Regions from separate parts of the Homo sapiens genome. Here regions 1, 2, 3, 5, 6 and 7 are each linked to region 4. Evidence: promoter capture Hi-C in 16 types of primary human blood cells and fetal thymus (Javierre and others, 2016). All regions are on one chromosome and are shown on one strand. Each heading gives the region's core, a stretch centred on a gene start or on the middle of the fragment in contact. The rest is flanking DNA. Distances are from core to core; before and after follow the strand shown.

Evidence for each region. The method cuts DNA at HindIII sites, captures the fragments that hold promoters and counts their contacts. A CHiCAGO score of 5 or more calls a contact.
Region 1: a contact is called between a fragment that was not itself captured here and the fragment with the promoter of HLX in region 4, in 2 of 17 cell types (neutrophils and monocytes). The highest score is 10.0, in neutrophils.
Region 2: a fragment that was not itself captured here is called in contact with the fragment with the promoter of HLX in region 4 in 1 of 17 cell types (neutrophils); the score reaches 6.5 in neutrophils.
Region 3: a contact is called between a fragment that was not itself captured here and the fragment with the promoter of HLX in region 4, in 7 of 17 cell types (neutrophils, monocytes, total B cells and 4 more). The highest score is 16.8, in neutrophils.
Region 5: a contact is called between a fragment that was not itself captured here and the fragment with the promoter of HLX in region 4, in 2 of 17 cell types (neutrophils and monocytes). The highest score is 7.4, in neutrophils.
Region 6: a contact is called between a fragment that was not itself captured here and the fragment with the promoter of HLX in region 4, in 1 of 17 cell types (neutrophils). The highest score is 10.1, in neutrophils.
Region 7: a fragment that was not itself captured here is called in contact with the fragment with the promoter of HLX in region 4 in 6 of 17 cell types (neutrophils, monocytes, M1 macrophages and 3 more); the score reaches 7.7 in neutrophils.

What each region holds. Positions count from the first base shown.
Region 1 is chr1:221,118,891-221,121,750 of GRCh38, forward strand. No RefSeq gene overlaps it. Among named protein-coding and RNA genes, the nearest start is that of LINC02817, 220 kb to the right of the region's middle. The HindIII fragment of the contact is 3,557 bases long and covers 1-2,860 here.
Region 2 is chr1:221,019,722-221,022,421 of GRCh38, forward strand. No RefSeq gene overlaps it. Among named protein-coding and RNA genes, the nearest start is that of HLX-AS1, 140 kb to the left of the region's middle. The HindIII fragment of the contact is 528 bases long and covers 1,048-1,575 here.
Region 3 is chr1:221,099,933-221,102,742 of GRCh38, forward strand. All of the region lies in intron 5 of LOC101929750 (a long non-coding RNA gene), which reads left to right. Among named protein-coding and RNA genes, the nearest start is that of HLX-AS1, 220 kb to the left of the region's middle. The HindIII fragment of the contact is 1,991 bases long and covers 460-2,450 here.
Region 4 is chr1:220,878,134-220,880,964 of GRCh38, forward strand. It overlaps HLX (H2.0 like homeobox), which reads left to right and starts at 1,310. Exons shown (of 4, transcript NM_021958.4): 1 at 1,310-2,316. The coding sequence starts at 1,725. HLX-AS1 (HLX antisense RNA 1) reads right to left here and starts at 2,007. Exons shown (of 3, transcript NR_046901.1): 1 at 1,716-2,007. RefSeq lists a silencer at 867-916 and an enhancer at 2,035-2,643. The HindIII fragment of the contact is 7,579 bases long and covers 1-2,831 here.
Region 5 is chr1:221,061,806-221,064,531 of GRCh38, forward strand. All of the region lies in intron 2 of LOC101929750 (a long non-coding RNA gene), which reads left to right. Among named protein-coding and RNA genes, the nearest start is that of HLX-AS1, 180 kb to the left of the region's middle. The HindIII fragment of the contact is 965 bases long and covers 988-1,952 here.
Region 6 is chr1:221,039,214-221,041,929 of GRCh38, forward strand. No RefSeq gene overlaps it. Among named protein-coding and RNA genes, the nearest start is that of HLX-AS1, 160 kb to the left of the region's middle. The HindIII fragment of the contact is 9,845 bases long and covers 1-2,716 here.
Region 7 is chr1:221,082,914-221,085,613 of GRCh38, forward strand. The region is part of intron 5 of LOC101929750 (a long non-coding RNA gene); the gene reads left to right. Among named protein-coding and RNA genes, the nearest start is that of HLX-AS1, 200 kb to the left of the region's middle. The HindIII fragment of the contact is 175 bases long and covers 1,178-1,352 here.

The DNA.
Region 1 (2,860 bases), core at 329-2,828, 240 kb after region 4:
GAGTATTTGAAAGAGACTGGGGATTTTGATTTTATATCCACCCCTGGGAAGTGGCTGTCCATGCAGGGAAATTTTCCTTTCAGAAAGAAGTAAGCGGTGGGTGGATGAAAGGATAAAAATGAACACATCTACACCTTCTCACCCTCAAAATAAAAATGAAGGCCACTTGGAATTACTAGTGCTCTCATGTGAATATCTCTGAAGTGATGATAGTACTAAATCAGTCAGTCAGCATTGACTGGCTGCCTGCTTGATACTTACACAGTTCCTATAAAAAGAAACTGGAGCATGGTAGGGATTCAAAAACAAGGACCTTGAAAGAAAAAGCCTGTGGCTAATAGAGTTGTCAGTGTGTAGTGTACTACTTCCTAATGAAAGAACTGGAAGAAACTGAGCAAGTCCTCTTGCCTCTGCCTTTGCACCCTCTGCTCCAGTCCACACTGAAAATATCCTCAGTGATGTTACAAGTGTTGAGAATGTGAAGTTAAATGATCTAAACGGCTCACTCAGTGGAGAGCCATCTACTTATGTCTTTTTCATCGGCCATAATTCCAACTCTTAGAGCTTCAGTTCTATAAATTTTACAAGAATTTTAAGTTTTCAAAGTCATTTACTATCATATTTCTTAAAAGATAATTATTTCTCTTACGTTTCACTTGTCCAAAATTAGGATGCACCTTGAAATCAACTGATATGTATATTTAACCTGGAAGAAGTGTTTTCATTCCCTCTTGTACAGTTAGGAAGCCGATGAAATTAGTTTAACATCAAGGAATAAGGTGAAAGGTAAATAGACCTCTGAGGCAAGGACCTTAAGGTGTGTTATGGTCTGAATTGTGTCCCCCTGCTCTCCAAATTCATATGTTTAAGTTCTAAACCCCAGTACTTGAATATAGGGGCTTTAAGAGGTAAAATGTGGTCATTAGGGTGGGCCCTAATCCAATGTGGCTAGTGTCATTATAAGAAAATAAAATTAGGAAGGACACAGATATGCACAGAGCAAAAAACTGAAGACACAGGGAGAAGATGGCCATCTACAAGCCAAGGAGAGAGGCTCCAGGAAGAAACCAAACTTGTGTCAATCGGCTTGGGCTGTTGTAACAAAATACCACAGTCTGGGTGGCTTATCCAACAGGAATTTATTTCTCACAATTCTGAAGACTGAGAAGACCAAGATCAAGGGACTAGTGAATTCAGTTCTTCAGTGAGGTCTCTCTTCCTGGCTTGCAGATGACCATTCTCCCTGTGTCCTCGTGTGATGGAGACAAAGTTCTAGTGTCTCTCCCTCTTCCTATAAGGGCACTAATCCCGACATGAAGGCTCCACCCTTATTACCTCATACAAAACTAATAATCTCCCATAGGCCCCAATGCCATCTCATTGGAGATTAGGGCTTCAACATATGAATTTTGGAGAGGGAGCACAATTCAGTCCATGGCATACCTTGATCTTGGTCTTCTGCCTCCAACACCGTGAGGAAATAAATTTCTGTTGTTTAACCCACCTAGTTTGTGGTATTTTGTTATGGCAGCCCTAGCAAACTAATAGAAGGTGTTGGTTGCATACTGGAGCAGAATGAGCCTGACAGGCAGTGGGGCCAGTCGGGAGAGACCCATGGGGCTAAGAGGGGACACAGGAGACTGTCGTAATCTGCTCAAGCTGCTATTACAAAATATCTGGGACTGGATAATTTAGAAAGAAGAGAAATTTATTTTCTCATGGTTCTAGGGACCGGGAAGTTCAAGATCAAGGTGCTGGCAGGTTCAGTGTCTCTGAAGGCTACTCTGTGGTTCCAAGATGATGCCTTGATTCTTCACATGACAGAAAGGAAAAAAGCTGAAAAAGGTACATATGAGGCCTTTTTTATAAAAGCCTCCATTCCATTAACTTAGGCTTCACCTTCATGGTTTAATCACCTCCTAAAGACCCTCATCTCTTAATCCTATCATATTGGTGACTACATTTCAATACAGAAATTTGGGAGGAGAGTGAACATTCAAACCTTAGTAGGGACAATAGAAAAATAAGTTCAAAATTATTCGAATGTCAAAGAATGGATTTTTCTCAGATGTCAGATCTGTCTGCAAAGAAGAACATCAGTTCCTTCTCTAACTTCATGGAAGGATGGTGGAATATTGTACCTAGATAACTGTCCTTAGTTTTGTCGTTTTGCTTTGTCATAAAACATCAGCCCTTTCAGGATGCCTGCTCTATTTCCGTAACTTTGTTCTGACTGGTCAGTTTTTCCTTCTCATTTTACCTCATGATGGCTTTTTCTATATAAAGCCAAGAAAATGGGTCAATTCTGTCAAGTCAGTTGGAAAAACAGACCATTTGGATTGGTTGATAATATCCGGGTACAATCTTAGACACTGTCCTGAAAAGAGTCTTTTTTCCATGCCCCCTTCCTTTTGGAGCTAAAGTTTTTTTTCTTCTGAATATTACCTTTTAAGTATTGTCAAAAGATTATTTATAGGATCTCTGAAAAATAGCTTTGGATGCTCTCGGTAGAGGAGATGTGGTAGGGAATCAAATTAGATTGGGTCACAAGGGAAAGTGTCTGTAAGAATATGAATGGGACCCAGGGGAAATAAAAATTAAAGAGAAACCAGACTCGAGCTGCACTTTCTCTATTTTGCCAAGTTAGACTTGAATTATGTCATCATATGTAATTTCAAGGAATGGGCAAACTAGTTTGGATAAAACAAAAGTGATCGGATTTGTTTCCCAAAGTGTAAATTGAATCATAGAGAGAAAATTTTCTTGGATGCAAAATAAACGTCCCTGATATCTTCCCCCCATTATTAATTCTTATGAGCCTTATTAATTTTCATCCTAAATGAGATACAAAATGCTGGAA
Region 2 (2,700 bases), core at 62-2,561, 140 kb after region 4:
GGGCATACATCTGAGTCTATGAGCTCATATGGGCAAGATATTTACTTTTTTATTTCCTCACATCAAGGCACCCAACTTACCTGACTGGTAGAAATTTTATCTTGGTCACTTGTTGGGCCAATTTGTTTTTTCTTGGAGGGTACCAGAATCTGAGAGGCTATGTGAGGCCAAGGAGATGGATAAAAGGCCTCCCATCTCCAGGATTCCATGTTCACATTGACATTGACATTCTTATGGTCAAACCAGTGAGTATTCTTGATATATGGCTGCTCTCTGCTTTTATGCTGGGTGTGAGGCTCAAGTATTTCTGTAAGCCTGGGATCCTGAGAGTCCAGGTGTCCTTCTCCAAGAAGTTCTACTAAATATCCTGGCAAGGCCTTGCTACTTCCCCACGCACCACTGCAGAGAGCAAAGTGATCCACACTGGTCCCAGACCCTGCAGACCTTTTTTCTTCCCAGAAGAAAAGATGACTTCCCAGAAGTCATCCTGGCAGGATGACTCTAGGACTCAAAAGATTTTCCATCCCTGGACCCCTCTGGACATGTAGAATGACCTCAGCCTTCTGGGCATTTCTGCTCTTGGTTTTGCTGTTCAGTCTACTAAAGTCACTGAATGAAGGCAGCCCAAAGGTATATCCACCTGTTGAAATGGGGGCAAGTGATTGTGACAAGAGCAGAAATACAGGGAGAACAATAACACATTCACAAAAACTTTGCTCTGGATGGGTAGAGATGTTAAGACCAAGAGAACATGGCAACAAAAGTGGCTTGAATTGGGAAATTCAGGTAAGTCCTATTTCCCCCTGTTGACTCAAGAACTCTGTTGACTGGAGAACTCTGTGTACCCAGTAGAACAGTTCATGTAACATAAGCATCAAAATAATCAAGGGCTGAAGAATAAATAAAAGACGGGCCCCCAAACTCTCCAGTGAAGAAAAAAAGATATAAAAAGCAGTAAAATGAAGATCTGTTTTCTTTTTTTGTGGGCCATATCATCTTAATAAGTCCCATTGTCTGATTTATTGGTCCCATCACTAGAGAATCCAAAGCTTCTTTGACCTCCTAGGTGATTTTCAAGTTATAGCCACAGCCCTGATTCTAAAATCTTAGGTAAAAGGTACATATAGACTTGTCCCAGTTATTACAAATGAATATGGTGCATATACCTTACATTATAAAATACCCACTTTGTATTTCTTAAGCAAAATTCATGAAGACTTTCATGAAATGAAATAAATACTATAAGAAATGTCACGTCTTTTCAGGTCAGTTTTTGCTTTCATATATATTGAAATCAGGTGAGATTTTATGGCCAAACAGCTACAAAAAACTTTCACTATTCAGGTCTTTTGCATTTTGGAATTACAGATAAGAGATTGTAGATCTTAAGTGAGAGTCAAAAGTTGTTCATACCTAAGCAAGAAGAGAGAGAATGAGATATTCTCTGTGTATAAGCTGCCCACACCTCTTTGGCTGTGTGGGAGCATAAATATTATTCTCCTTTTTATGCTGTAGTATTAGCTGTATTGGGAAATAAGTAAGTTTTGGCATAATGTCAGTTAAGTGATATTAGGAAGCTTTACAACAAACTGGAAAGCTTCAGTGTTTCTCAGTCCATTCATTCAACAATGATTGAGCACCCACTGCATATCACGAACCAACCTAAGTGTTAGGGAAGACAGCTTGTGCCTTCATGGTGTTCCCCATATTGTGGGGGAGTAAGTGCACAATGATACTGTGGCAAGTGTTAAAATAGGGGAAGGCATAAGACGCTTTGGGACAATAAAAAGAGCAGCCAACTTAGACAGAGGGGAATGATGGTGGGCTTCTTTGAAAGAAGGAGGAGATGGCCCTGAGCAGAGTCTTGAGTAATCCCTAGGCATTACACATGAACAGAAACAAAAAGAAGGGGTGATGGGTGAAGGGATGTTCCAGACAGCTGGAGACATATGTGAAAATGTGAAAAGACAGCATTAGAGAATGCACGTTTGGGAGAGAGGGGGACCAGGGATGATGGAAGAGAGGGGCCAGATGCCAAACCATGAAGGATGACTTTGATAATCAGGACTATCTACATCAGTGGATCATCAATGAAAAGCTTTCCAGCCCAAACAGGGTGATGAGAGCATCTGTCCATGAACTACTGCCCAGAGCTCATCTGGTAGCTCTAAAGATCTACTATTCATGTCAGAAACAAGAGATTAGGCACTGCTCTCTTGTAAGCACTGAGGAGGATAAAGAACCATGGAACACTGTGGGAAGAAATAGTTTGAGGCCCACGCTTGGAGAATCTTTTATGTTGCGTGTGGGGCTCAAGTATTTCTGTAAGTCCTCGGGGCATCTGCAACAGCCCAACCACTGCCACCAGTCCTTTCCTAGGGAAAAGAGAAGACTTTACACTGCTTCCGACAGAGAGATCTAGTTGGGTAACAGGGTTTCCTCGTGGTTGTGGGGGCTTCCTCAGGACTAGAAAGGAGGATATACTGGAAAAGGATTGTCAGTCAAAGCCATGGCAAGCTTGAGGGCACAGACGTGTGGCAGGCTTGTACAAAAGGAACAGGGAACTGGAGGCAGAGCAAGCTCTGGGCAATTTCAAACTTTGCTCTCCTCTCCCCGATTCTCTCCCCTTTTCTTTGGGTTGTTGCTGTGTTACTTCCAGCCCTCAGAGATGATGAATTATGGCTGGTGGTTGTTTCTAAG
Region 3 (2,810 bases), core at 205-2,704, 220 kb after region 4:
CTACAGAGGACTGGATGGGAGTCTACTTCCTTCCACTCACCAGTGGTTTGAATTGTCAGAGGACTGATGGCCTCAGCTCTGGTCCTGGCTCCTTCCTTTCCGGGTAATCCCGCCACCACAGGTGGGCGTTTCACTTATTACTCCTTTCTCACCTGCCTGTGGTGAAAGCGATGCCTGCCCTAGAGGATGCTGGGAGGAGTAATGCAGAGGTGGCTGTGAAAGGCCACACAATACTCGGGTCCTGATGAGCAGCATCACTTCTGTGATGGCTGTCATTTTCTCTGTTCAGCCGTTTTCAAGAGTGTTAAGAAATAGCGGGGCTCTGTCCCAAGATTCCCCTTTCTTTGTAAAGCCTAAGAAAGCAGATGCTCCGGATAAGCAGAGAAAACTCAGCATTTCTGAGGGTTTGTGGGTTTGAGTCAACATTATGCTATCACCTTTTAGTGCACTTAATAATTAAGCTTACAGTAGGTAGCAGACAATGGCATCGAGCTGGGTGTGGCTTCAGAGCCAGCCGAGTCCTTTCTTGAAGCTCTACAAAAGCCTCTATGATATTTCTCCCCACCTTGGAAATTTTTAAATAGTTTAAACATTTAAGCAGATTTTAATGTTTTTTATTTAAAAAATGGAAGGAATAAAAAGGCCACAGTAGAATCTTCAGGAAAGACAGTGGTTGCAGTTCTGTACATGTGAAAGTCAAAAAGTGGCTAAGAAAAAGATGCTCCGCCTGCCACTACTAAAAAGAAAAAACGTTTGCCATAAGCCACCATGACTCAGAGTTCACAGATGGGAAGAAACAGATAAATTAGAGCAAAGTTCCTGAAAATGTTCTGTGACTGATACTGCTTCCTGTAAGTGACTGGAAAGAGCTAGTGCTGATTTGAGTAGACATTGGTTCTTCTAGAAGAGCCAGAAGGTTTCACATGGATTTTTTTAATGTTGGAAAAACCAGGCAGGAGAACAAAAAAAGGAGAAAAATTCTTTCCCCCCTTCTTTTAATATCGTTTTCAGTAGCACAATGCATTTAAAGTAAGGCACAGTTTCCTCAGAGTAATATGGCCTCAGGACATGATTTAGATGGAAAATTTAAGTAAGATTAATGCAATTTATTATCCAACAGGATATCCCTACAAGCCACACTATTTGGCTGAATTTTAGATTCCCAATCTAATATTTCAGATGAGATTTCCAGATGGGTGTCTTATTCCTCTATTAGTTTAGTCAGGGTGATATAGAGTTTGTAAAACAGGAGAGGTTAAACTAGTTTTAACACTTGATTAATCATTGAAATTACTTTGTTACTGTTTGAATTCACTGACTTTTGTTTATTAAGTAACTCCCTAAGACCCAAAGCCAACACAAACTAGAGGCACCTTTCCAGCTTTGCTAATTTATTTGATGACTTCTTCAAAGGAAATTTTTTAAAAAGTAGTAAATTTATGGTTACATTGAAAGGCTGCTCAATGCTTGCCCTTTGCCTTGCTAAAAAGTAAAGTGTGGGTTTATAAGACTGGGGGAAAATGTACACACACACACGTGTACACGCACACACACACACACACACACCCCATATTCCAATTTCCTGGAACATTACGGGGCAGATAAATCTTTAAAACAAATTGGATAAATAATTATCAGAACCTTTGCCACTTCTATCAAGAAACAGACAGATAATATAGAAACCGTCTGAGGTGACAAACCACACATATATTCTGCCATTTTATAATCTGCTAGCAGGTCTATTAAGGGAGGTAGATTCTAGTGCACCTGGCAAGGCTGCTTTGAATGATGGGATGAGCTGAGTGAAAGGGCCATAGACAGCAAGACTCAGTGCTTAGCGTGGAGTGAAGGGGGAGGAGGGCTGATTCCAATATGGGACAAAGCTCCAAACCAGAAATTTTTTTTGGGATATGAAAATTTCCTGAAGTCTGGGTTTGTTAAATTGATTACAATCTCTTTTCAGAGACCTATCAGGAGCAAACTAGTGAGTTGCAGACATAAATTTGAATTCCAGAGTCTCCTACTAACCCAACTCATAAATGAATTCCTAAATGCTGACTGAGCCAGAAGACCCAGCATTGGAAAACCACTTGGCAGGAATCATTAGTTTCAAAATGAGATGAACTGCTCTATTTAGCCCTCATTCAAAACTTTACAGAAATGCCAGATTTCCATAAACACAGGTTTCCTTGAATTTCCAGGGCTCTGATTAACTGGTGGATGAGGGTGCCTCACAAATACAGATTTGTATGCAATATTCAGCTTGGAGGAGATTGGAGGTTGGAAACCAACACAAAGTATTCCTTCTCCTTTCTAATGTTAACTCTTCCTTGTTTTTCAGAAGACTTTTTTTGTTGTTGTTATAAGGAGTTTGGACAATTAAGAATTAGTCTATGGTTTAAAGACATAGTTATAGATCATATTCTTGTCATTTATGTCATCATCTGTTAAGCTTTTTATGACTGATTGACAACCCACTGCTTTATAGTGTGGCTTTATTGCCCCAAAGGAATGAGAGAATTGAAAAATACACTTCTGTCTCTGCTGAAAAAGTCATAAAGTTGTGGCTTCTGCTAAGTAAAGAGATTGCTTGCAAAGAGATATTTTCTTTTTTAAATGTGTTTTCATTTTTTTTCTTTCTGCCATTTTTCTTCATTGATACTGGCACATTAGATAGAGTACCTAACATTGGCACAACATAGATCTATAGAGTTAAAACTTTTGGTGGTTGCATATTTTCGGCTTCCATGTTCAAGTCAATAAAGCAAAATAAATTTGAAGGGTAAATAGCCAATTTCTGTATTCTGAAA
Region 4 (2,831 bases), core at 60-2,559:
TCGTGCTGAAGGGAAATAAAAATGTCACAGAATCCCTGTTAGGAGATGCTTATTAGGGCAATCGAAAACAAAAGTTTTCGTGGTTTCATTATTCGTATTATTTTATTTTCTTCCTGAAAATGTGCAAGAACAGCTCATCTGGGTGGCCTGTGGTTTGTTTGGGAGAGGGGTGGGGAAATTCATTCTGACTATAATTTAAAGAGAAGAAATTCTTAAAATAGATATGTCGATGTTGCACAAAACCTCCACCACCACTACCCTGCGTTCTAAAGACCCAAGGCACGAATGGAAGACGTTGACCACCACGCAGCTCCTCCTGCAACCAGGCCCAAGGGGTTCCTGGGGAAGCTGTCACAGAATTGAAAGCAGTATTGAACCCCACGGAAATCTGCTCTTGTGGGCACTTGCAAAACAACGAACCCCACGTGATCCGGAGATGTGGTGGAGGGGTGAGGCTAACATTTCCTACAACCTCCTGCAAAGGATGGAAGCGCGTGCCGCTCTCCCGGGTTTCGGGAGGCAGCCTGTTTTGTAGCCTCTGAGGCTCCGGGGAAAGGTTTGGCTGCGTCTAAGAGAGACGTTTGGAGCCATCCGTCTTATTTTGTTTGAAAAGTCACTCGTTCAATTTGTCACTGTGTGACAGCTCAGAATAAAACCAATTTGCGGCCGCCCCTCCTCCTCGCTTCCCGGAGGATCTCCTGGGAGGCACGAGGCGGACGCGGTGCTGAGTTGGGCCGGGACTCAGGGCGGCAACATTTGGGCAAGGGCCCAGGAAAGATGAGGGGCTTTGCCGAGGACACGGACTCCTGGAATAAAAGCAGAATGAGGTCAAGAGAAGGGAAGCAAAGGGGCCAAAGCGCGCTCCGCTCTCCACCGGGAGGCGGGCTTTGCAGAGCCCTAAAGAGTGAGATTACCGTCCCTTCCCCACGCCCCCAACTCGCCCCGGGTGACAAGCGCTTCAGGAAAGCTCCTGTGATCAACCCTCCTTGCCCCGTGGCGGTTCGGAGCTGCAGAAGTTAGAAGAGAGTCAGAGCCCTCCGGAGCGGCTGCCTGGCCCCTACGCAGAGTAGCAAGAAGCACTGCGATGTGCGCTACTAAGCCCACGCGGCCGCAGCAAAAACTTTGGCGTGGCCGGGGCGTGGCTAGGGTCCGGCCAGGCCCCCTTGTTCCTAATTCCCCTCCACTCCCCGCTCCCATTGGTCACGAGGATGACCAATGAGCGCTCGGATCGAGGTCCTACCCCGGGCCTGACTCGAAAGCTCCTGCCAAAACTTTGGGAGTTTTTAGAGACGAGTTTTTTTTTTTTTCTATTACTTTTCCCCCCCCCTAACTAACGGACTATTATTGTTGTTGTTTTAAATTTAGCTCTTAGGGCTTAGCTATTTGGGTTTTCTTGCGGTGTCCGGCTCCCGTCTCCCTGGCTCCCCCGCCCGCCCTGCGGCCCCAGCGCCCCTCGCTCTCATCCAGCCCGCGAGGAGTGCGGGCGCCGCGCCGCCTTTAAAGCGAGGCCAGGGAGCGAGGCGGTGACCGGCCGAGATCCGGCCCTCGCCTCCTCCCTCGGTGGCGCTAGGGCTCCCGGCCTCTCTTCCTCAGTGCGGGCGGAGAAGCGAAAGCGGATCGTCCTCGGCTGCCGCCGCCTTCTCCGGGACTCGCGCGCCCCTCCCCGCGCGCCCACCCACCCAGTCCGGCTGGACTGCGGCAGCCGCGCGGCTCACCCCGGCAGGATGTTCGCAGCCGGGCTGGCTCCCTTCTACGCCTCCAACTTCAGCCTCTGGTCGGCCGCTTACTGCTCCTCGGCCGGCCCAGGCGGCTGCTCCTTCCCCTTGGACCCCGCCGCCGTCAAAAAGCCCTCCTTCTGCATCGCAGACATTCTGCACGCCGGCGTGGGGGATCTGGGGGCGGCCCCGGAGGGCCTGGCAGGGGCCTCGGCCGCCGCCCTCACCGCGCACTTGGGCTCGGTTCACCCGCACGCCTCTTTCCAAGCGGCGGCCAGATCCCCGCTTCGACCCACCCCAGTGGTGGCGCCCTCCGAAGTCCCGGCTGGCTTCCCGCAGCGGCTGTCTCCGCTCTCAGCCGCCTACCACCACCATCACCCGCAACAACAACAGCAGCAGCAACAGCCGCAGCAGCAACAGCCTCCGCCTCCGCCCCGGGCTGGCGCCCTGCAGCCCCCGGCCTCGGGGACGCGAGTGGTTCCGAACCCCCACCACAGTGGCTCTGCCCCGGCCCCCTCCAGCAAAGACCTCAAATTTGGAATTGACCGCATTTTATCTGCAGAATTTGACCCAAAAGTCAAAGAAGGCAACACGCTGAGAGGTAGGTCTTGGGCGGGAGGCTGCAGGCCTCTGACCACTGACCCACTCCCCGGACCCCGGGCTGGCTTGGGGTGCCTTTGAGTGTTTTTACAATTAAGGACAAATCGGTAAAACGGGAGAGAAGAAAACGAATTGTAAGAAAACTACAAAACATTAGGTCTAAAACTCACCTGTTCTATGTAAAACAAACAAAAAATGACTCCAGGGATTCTTTAAAAACACGTCTTAGAATCAATATTTATAAAAGTGGTTGGTGTAATTATCTGCTAACATGACTTTGATCTCTTTAATAATGTATCTAGAGACAGAATTATATTTTCTGACAGCTAAAGCATTTTTGGGAAACACTTTCGCACTTATCTGATTTCTAGTAAAAATTTCACCCAGGAAATGTAAATAATAAACAAAACCGCCTAGATGAGCGGGCAGAGTGGGGCCACCTTGGGGCGGAGGTTTTGCGTCTGTGGCGTTCTTGGAAGACACGTGAAAGTGAGGCCGTAAGCCGATTTATGTAAA
Region 5 (2,726 bases), core at 220-2,719, 180 kb after region 4:
CTATTATTCTAAGGGAAGTAACTCAGGAATGGAAAACCAAACATTGTATGTTCTCACTCATAAGTGGGAGATAAGCTATGAAGATGCAAAGGCATAAGAAGGATACAATGGACTTTGGGGACTCAGGCGAAAGGGTGGGAGGGGTGAGGGATAAAAGAATACAAACTGGATTCAGTGTATACTGCTCAGGTGCACCAAAATCTCACAAATCACCACTAAAGTTCTTACTCATGTAATAAAATACCACTTGTTCCCCAAAAACCTATGGAAATAAAAAATTAAAAAAAAATAACCTCACCTAAAATGGACTTCTGTTTTCGGGAATATGAAATAGATATACTCTTCCCAGATCGCACCACTGCACTCCAGCCTGGGTGACAGAGCGAGACTCCATCTCCAAAAGCAAAACAAAACAAAACAAAACAAAAACCCTGAACAAAATATGTAACACAAACAAAAGAAGACTCTAAAGGTCAAGAGAAGAAGGCAGAACTAGGGAACTTGGAACCCAAGAAACAACACTGTGGAAAGTTCCCTGGGTTTTCTTTTGGCCTCACGTATCTGAGACTTGAAACTAACAAAGCCAGCAACCTGGAAATGCCAATAGGAGCAGACAAAAATGTCCCTTCCAAAAGCCTACTTTCTCTAGCCAAAGGCCAGCCAATAGGCAGCCTAGCAAGATAGAAAACTTTGACAATAACTGCTGTACTCCAGCCAATGCTACAGAAAAATACAGCGGCTCCAACCTCACTCCCACCAGCAAAGGCCAAGTGGGGAGCATAGATTTGCTCCCTTCAGAGGGATAGTGAAGTGTTGTATGCCACCTCCACTGGGGTGATGTCAGAAAAATCTGAGCAGGGAGCTGGGAGTTTCATCCACACTGAGTATTCCCTCTGCCTCCTTTTTCCTCTACTTTTGATGTCAGTGGAGACTACATGGGGATTCTAGACTTCCACCCACAGCCACTGGTGCAGTAGTGTCAGAAAAAGCTTAGTGGAGAGTCAGGACTTTTACCACCACTTGTGGCCACCCTGCTCCCTTGGTATTAGAGGAGCTCAGGTGGGGAGAAGCAGCTCCTACCTCTGTCCAGCGGTAACAAGTGGCATCCCCCACCCCAATGTGGCAATGGAAGCTAAGTGACAACCTGGACTTTTACCTTCATTGGCTAGGAATGAGGTGGCACCCTACTTTCCCTGCCAGGACTGTGTCAGAAGAAAACAGCTAAAACAGAAGGTTTAAATAACATCTTGAGTCTTTTAATACCCAAACTGTCCATGTTTCAAATGAAAATCACTTCTTAAACCAAGAACCAGGAAGATCTGAAACTGAATGAAGATAGACAATCAATAGTTGCCAACACTAAGCTGATAGAGATATTAGAATGATCAAGAATTTTATAGCAGCTGTCCTAAGATGCCTCAACAAGCAATTAAAAACATTACAGAATATACTAAAATTACAAATTGTAAAAACAGAAAACTTTAATAAATAGAAAGTCTCAAGAAAGAAAGAGAAAATATAAAGAATAATTCAATGAGAAATTTTGGAACTGAAAAATATAACAATCAATATAAGAAACACAATGGACAGGCTAAAGAGCAGTATGGAGGGAACAGAGAAAAGAATCAGGTAACTGGAAGACAGAACAACAGATATTACTCAATTAGAACAATGTAGAGAAAATAATAACTGAAAAAAAAGGACAGAGCCTTAGGGACCTGGGAGAATATAATAGAAGATATAATGTGTAATCAGAGACCTAGAAAGAGAGAAGAAAGAGATAGGACTAAAGAAGCACTTTAAGAAATAATGACTGAAAATGTTCCCAATTTGGCAGAAGATGTAAACCTACAAATTTGAGAAGCTGGGTAAACTCCAAGGAAGATAAATCCAAAGACATCCATATGAAGACACAATAGAGTCAAACTTGAAATCTAAAGACAATTTTAAAAAGCTTCAAAGTGCTTAGTGACAGAAAAATAACACCTTACTTGCAGGGCAAAAAATAATTTGAATGACAACATATTTCTCACCAGGAACTATAGATCCCAGAAGGAAGTGGTGCAACATTTTTCAAGTGCTGAAAGAAAATAACTGTTAACCTAGAATTCCTATACTTAGTCAAAGTATCCTTCAGGAATCAATGGGAAATCAAAGCCTTCTCAGATGAAGAAAAACTAAGAATCTGTCACCAGCAGATCTGCTTTAAAAGAACAGCTGAAGGAAGCTCTCTACATGGAAAAGAAATGCCGAAAGAAGAACCCTTAGAACATCAGGAAGAAAGAACATGGTCAGTAAAAATACGGATACAATATAACTGACTTCCCTTCTCTTAAGTTTAATTAAAAAAAAAAAACACATGAAATAAACAAACCAAAGACACTTAACATGAAACAATATTTTGAAGCAACTATCATATACAGATAAATGTGGACAGCATTTTTTCTCCATTAAAAATACATAGTTAATGGAATGTGTACTTACCATGTAACTCAAAATGAGAATTTGGCCTTCAAAATAACTATTAGAGAGGAAATTAATCCTAAAAAGATATGGTTAGAAACCATTCTGAAATTTTGTCAAAAGTTTCTTCCTTTCCTGTCTGCTTACTTGCATAATGTATGATGAAGGGATTGGACTTGATTGTCTCAAAGGTCTGTTCAGTTGAGCTCATGGCACTCTTGAATTTTTTTGGCTAAATTTCTGAAAGATCCACAAAATTGCAA
Region 6 (2,716 bases), core at 149-2,648, 160 kb after region 4:
ACATGTCAACGTAGAAATGGAAAATTTAGAAAACGGAACAAGCAAAAAATCAAAATCATTTATATTACCACAACTTAAAAGAATCCAGTTAACGTTTTGCTAAATATCAATATTTCTTAAACAAAATGGGATCATGCATATAGGTTGGCTGGCATAATTATTCACATTTGAGGCAGGCATGGTGTGTCATGAAAGAACAGAGGAGGGGAGGGACAACACAATAGGCATGGTTAAACACATTTTATTTTATACTAAATTTCAACTTTTTCATTTTTTTCTCCTCTACATATCATCTTTCCCACTTATCCATTTTTCTCCTTCCATCAATCCATGATTTCTTTAATTTTCTTTTTTAAATAAAAGGAACATAGTCTATTAATAGACAACAACCAAACAACAAGATCCACTAGCCAAAAGAAAGTAGACATTAGCTAATTAGTCAATTCATGTGGCCTAAGTGGCAGCCAGTTAACTCCAATGGTTAAATCTCAGAAGCCGACCTTTCTCATGAATATTTGTAACATTCACACAAAGACAATTGCTTTAGCTCCAGCTTGCAGTCCCACAGTTGTGTGTTGTTGGTCACAGGGAGACCTAGCAAGAGAATGGGGATGACTCATTGTAATGCACCAACACTCTCAGCAGATGCTCTCCAAAATGAGCTGGGAGCATGATCATACCATGAAAGATAATGAAGCACATTTCAGTTGAATTCTGGCCAGTGCAGGTCTTACACATCTCTTTGATAACTGAATGATCTAATTAAACTCTTTATAGACATTAAATAAACCCAATAATTGCCAATTACCTCTTCCTAGCAATGTTCCCTAGAACTAGAGTTTTATTTTTTGATATAATACCATATCTAAATAAATGCTTGCCAATGTTTTGATAAGAAATGATGTATAAATTAGCTGGCTTTCTTGTCATCATGTAATATAAGCAAGGCAAACTTCTTGTTTCCTTGATGGAACATTGCTCAGGATGGAAACTGTTATCATTGTCAGATGCAGTGTCAGTAGCAATTGGTGAATTTAGACTGCGTTTCCCTATCACTATCTCAGTGAAATAAGACATGTTTCTGAGAGATAAGGGATAATGGAGCTGTTGCTAATGCTTGAGTGGACCTAAGGCATTTGTGAATGAATAATTTTAATATGGAGAATAAAGGTATCCTGAGAATAGGAAAAAGAGGATAATCAGTTCCCTTCTGGATCAGATTGCCAGATTTAGCAAACAAAAATACAGAACTCCTGCAATATTTGAGACATGTTTATACTAAAATAATCACTTACCATTTATCTGAAATATAAATTTAACTGGGTGTCCTATATTGTATCTGATAACTTTACTTCTAGGGGATTAATTGGATCAGCACACTGGTAGGGACATGAAATAATTTGCAATTCTCTGGGGCCTTCCAGTTCAAGTAAGCAAAACTGTTTCCCAGCTTCCTCAGCTGTTCTTTATAAATCAGCATTTTTTTCCCTCAAGTGTGTACTTCATCTTTCTTTCTGGATTTTTCTGACTTCAGGGCAGAAGGGATGTTGGGGAGCTACATGCTGGAGAAAGTTTTTTCTGAGGAAAAATGAAATCACCACCTAAATCCCCTGAGTGGAGTGATTCTGGAAAGAGGGAGTGAAAGGAATGAGGTGGAGGTTGAGACAGTTCAGGGATGGCCAGAGGCAGTTTTGGATGGGAATTCTGGCGCAACTCACATCTTCTGGACTTGAAAGGTCATATCCGGAAGTCACAGTGCTCCTAGGAGAGGTTTTTCAACAAGGTTGGAGTACACTGGAGGCTACACACACAATCTGAGCCAAGAAACAAAGTTCACCCAAGAATGCCAGTGGTGATGTTTCCTCTACACTCTTGGCTAGGTGTGGACCTTGCTCAAATTCCAGGGGAGTGTTGGGTGAATGTGATCATCAGGATGTGGACTCTCATGCTGTGACAGCTAGAGTCTTGTGCCTCTTATTTGTCAGGGTGAATGGGACTGGTTAAATCTTAGCCAATGGGAATTTTTCTTCCTGACAAACAGGTCCATAATAGGGCTGACTTTTCCCAATAGAGGGAAACTACAGCATGGAACTAGGTTAAAAGATTTTGCTGTGAATGAGAAAACCTATTTGTTTTCTTTGCAACTAATTTTGCTATCTTTCCCTATACTAATTTTTAAAATTAATAAATGTTTTTTACTTATTTAATGGGTTAAATAACTCAAAGAGGTAAAAAGTTTTAATATTTTCCTCAGCTACTTCCTACTTAGAACCTGTTTTTCTAAAGTCCTAATATTACCAGCTTCTTTTTTTTTTTTTTTTTTTTTTTTTTTTGTGAGACGGAGTCTTGCTCTGTGGCCCAGGCTGGAGTGCAGTGGCTCAATCTCAGCTCACTGCAAGCTCGGCCTCCCGGGTTCACGCCATTCTCCTGCCTCAGCCTCCCAAGTAGCTGGGACTATAGGTGCCCGCCACCATGCCCAGCTAATTTTTTGTATTTTTAGTAGAGACGGGGTTTCACTGTGTTAGCCAAGATGGTCTCGATCTCTTGACCTCGTGATCTGCCCGCCTCAGCCTCCCAAAGTGCTGGGATTATAGGCATGAGCCACAGCACCTGGCCTTTACCAGCTTCTTAAACAGATGTTTGTTGACTTACAACACGGCTACCTCTTGATAAACTCACTGTAAACTCAAAATACCCAAAGTCAAAAATGTGCTTA
Region 7 (2,700 bases), core at 15-2,514, 200 kb after region 4:
GGCATGAAACTTACAAAAAGATGTCCTCAACACTTCTCAGTTGACAGAGACTGTTTTGTATTCATGTGGTTTATGTCTGTTTGTACAGTAATTAGGCTTTGATCTTTTGGGGTGAAGCTGCAGGCACACAAACACACATAGATACATGCACACACAGTCCCACACTGTGGGATAAAGGAACATACCAGAGTTTATGAGCATCGGGATTTAATTCTGGGAAATCTTGTCTTTTGGCATCTGCCAATATATCCTCTGGAATTTATTATGTGCCCGCAATATCTCTCCAACCAACCATTCTTCCCTATATCCACAGTCACTAGCTTAATATCAGCCCTTGTCATCTCACACCTGTATTATAAAAATAGCTTAGTCCCTTGTCTCTCTGGCTCCAATTGTCCCTAATTTCAACCCACACCTTTGGATGATGGAATTAGACTCTAAGACATTATTCTTATCATGTCACCTCCTTCTCCACCTCTGCTAAAGAACTCAATCATATATCCATGGAAAATAAATTGTTGTCCATGTATCATATTTCCAGATCCTTGGGGCAGGGGAAGGCGATCCAAGCATATCTGATCTCTCTCTCTCTCTGTCACACACACACACACACACACACACCCCTATGTAAAGAACTTGAAAATAACTTTAAGATTGTAAGGTATTCTTTGCTAACTTTCCTAAAACAGTTGCTTCAAAACCTAACTAATAAGCTAGGAAACTTTAAAAAATATGTAGACTCCTGTTAGAATCCAGGATAGTGGCTATCCTTTCTGCTGTTAATGTTCTATGGCGCTATTTTTGGATCTGGGTGCTGGATGCACGGGAATATTCCTCTTTCATTTATTTTACATTAATTTCTTTACTTTTCCTGAAACACTTCAAAATGTTCTTGTTTCTGTTGACTTATTCAAGATGTACTTACTGTGATCGTTGTAGATTGCTTCCGAATACACCCTTTGTAGCTCTATTCTTATGCACAGTGGACCCTAGATTCATTTTTAACAAATGGAATTATTTTGTCTTTTTTCTCCACCTCTTAGTGAATGGATGAGGAAAGGAAGGCATGGAAAGTGGACTGGCATGGCTATGAGTTAGAAGCAGTCAGAGTTCAGTTCAGAAACCTCTGAATTCAAGGCCAAGGCTCTGGGGACGAGGTTTTCCCCCAACATCAGTAAGCTTTGGAAACTTTTTAAAAAGTGGAAGAAAAAGTGATACCTAATACAGTGCTGTCCACATGATATGCAACCAATACATATTCAATAAATGAGTAAATATGAAAGAACAAATTTAAATGATGTCAACATATTATCTCCAACAGTTAAGAATCTTACACTTAGTTCCCTGCATAAAGCTTCCTGCATAGTCTTCAGTTTTGTTAACTAAAAGGTGTGACCTGATAATATTATTGGTTCAAGTGATAACTGCTTTGTACCAACTAACTGGTTTTTCAACAGATTTGTTATTACTGTGCATAAGTGTTGGAAACAGTTTGTTCATAGGAGTCTGTTTTTTTTTTCTGGAGTCTTAGGAAAGTGGCTGGTTTTACTCTGAAACATCATAACTTTGCAATCAGGAACCAGGTACAAAATGAGTAACTGTTAGCGAAAACAACCAGAAGCCACATTTTTAGCTATCTCTGTCATGTAGCTACAAATAAGAAATACCATTCCACCAACTTTGTGTCAGGTGCCTTTTTATATAATATGAAGAGTACTGTTTAAGTTCAGGGGAGAGCTAAATACTGGGGTCCCTGTTATGAAGGAACTCAAGAAGCCTTGATGAATGTATAGTGAATGATGAGTAACATGTTGGTCTAAGGTAGCCAGAGACAAGAAAGACCATCTCTGCCTGGAAAGGGCAGGCCAGCTTCATGGGGAAGATGATACTTGAAATGGATCTTGAAGGATGGTGATGCATTTAATGGGGTGCTTGGAACAAAAACAAAGGCAAGGATGTGAAAACATGCAGGGTGATTTTGGTGGAGAGTTTTGCTGGAGAAAAGCACTCAAATGGGGTCGTCAAGGTAGATAAACCTGATAAGGGAGTTAGTTTGCAGATTGTTGCGGGCGTGAAGTGCTAGGCCAAAAGTTAGGAAGTTCTTGAAGTGTCTAGGTGTGAAACAATGACGGTCTGAATGAAGATGTAGCCATGAAAATCAAAAAACATTTATTCATTTTAGAGGCATTGATTTCTACAAATTTCACTGAATTGGTAATTCCAACGTAGGAGGCAAGGGAGATAAAGTATCAAAGATGACTAGATGCTGAGGCTGGGTAACCAGTGCAATCAAGATGCCATTAACAAAAAACCCTTGTTTTTTTTGTTTGTTTTCTTGTTTTTTTTTTGTTTGTTTGTTTGTTTTTTTTACGGTCACAGTTCTAGGAATAGTAATCTATATTTGCTGTCATCTCTTTCATCTCAAATCACTTTTGATCCATTGGCATCTGTCTTGTGTCTATCTCATTGACACTTATCCAAGTCACCAATGACTTCCAACATGCCAAGTTTAATGGGGTGTTTCCATTTTTAAGTATTGATCTCTTTGCTGTATGAGCACTATTCACCATTCCCTTCAGGAAGCCCTCTGTCCCACTGGTTTTTATAACTCATTTTTCAGCATGAAAAACATTTTTTAAAGAGCAGAAAATTTGCACAGGAATCAGAGGTCTTCTTCAGCACAATAACAGAATGAAGCAT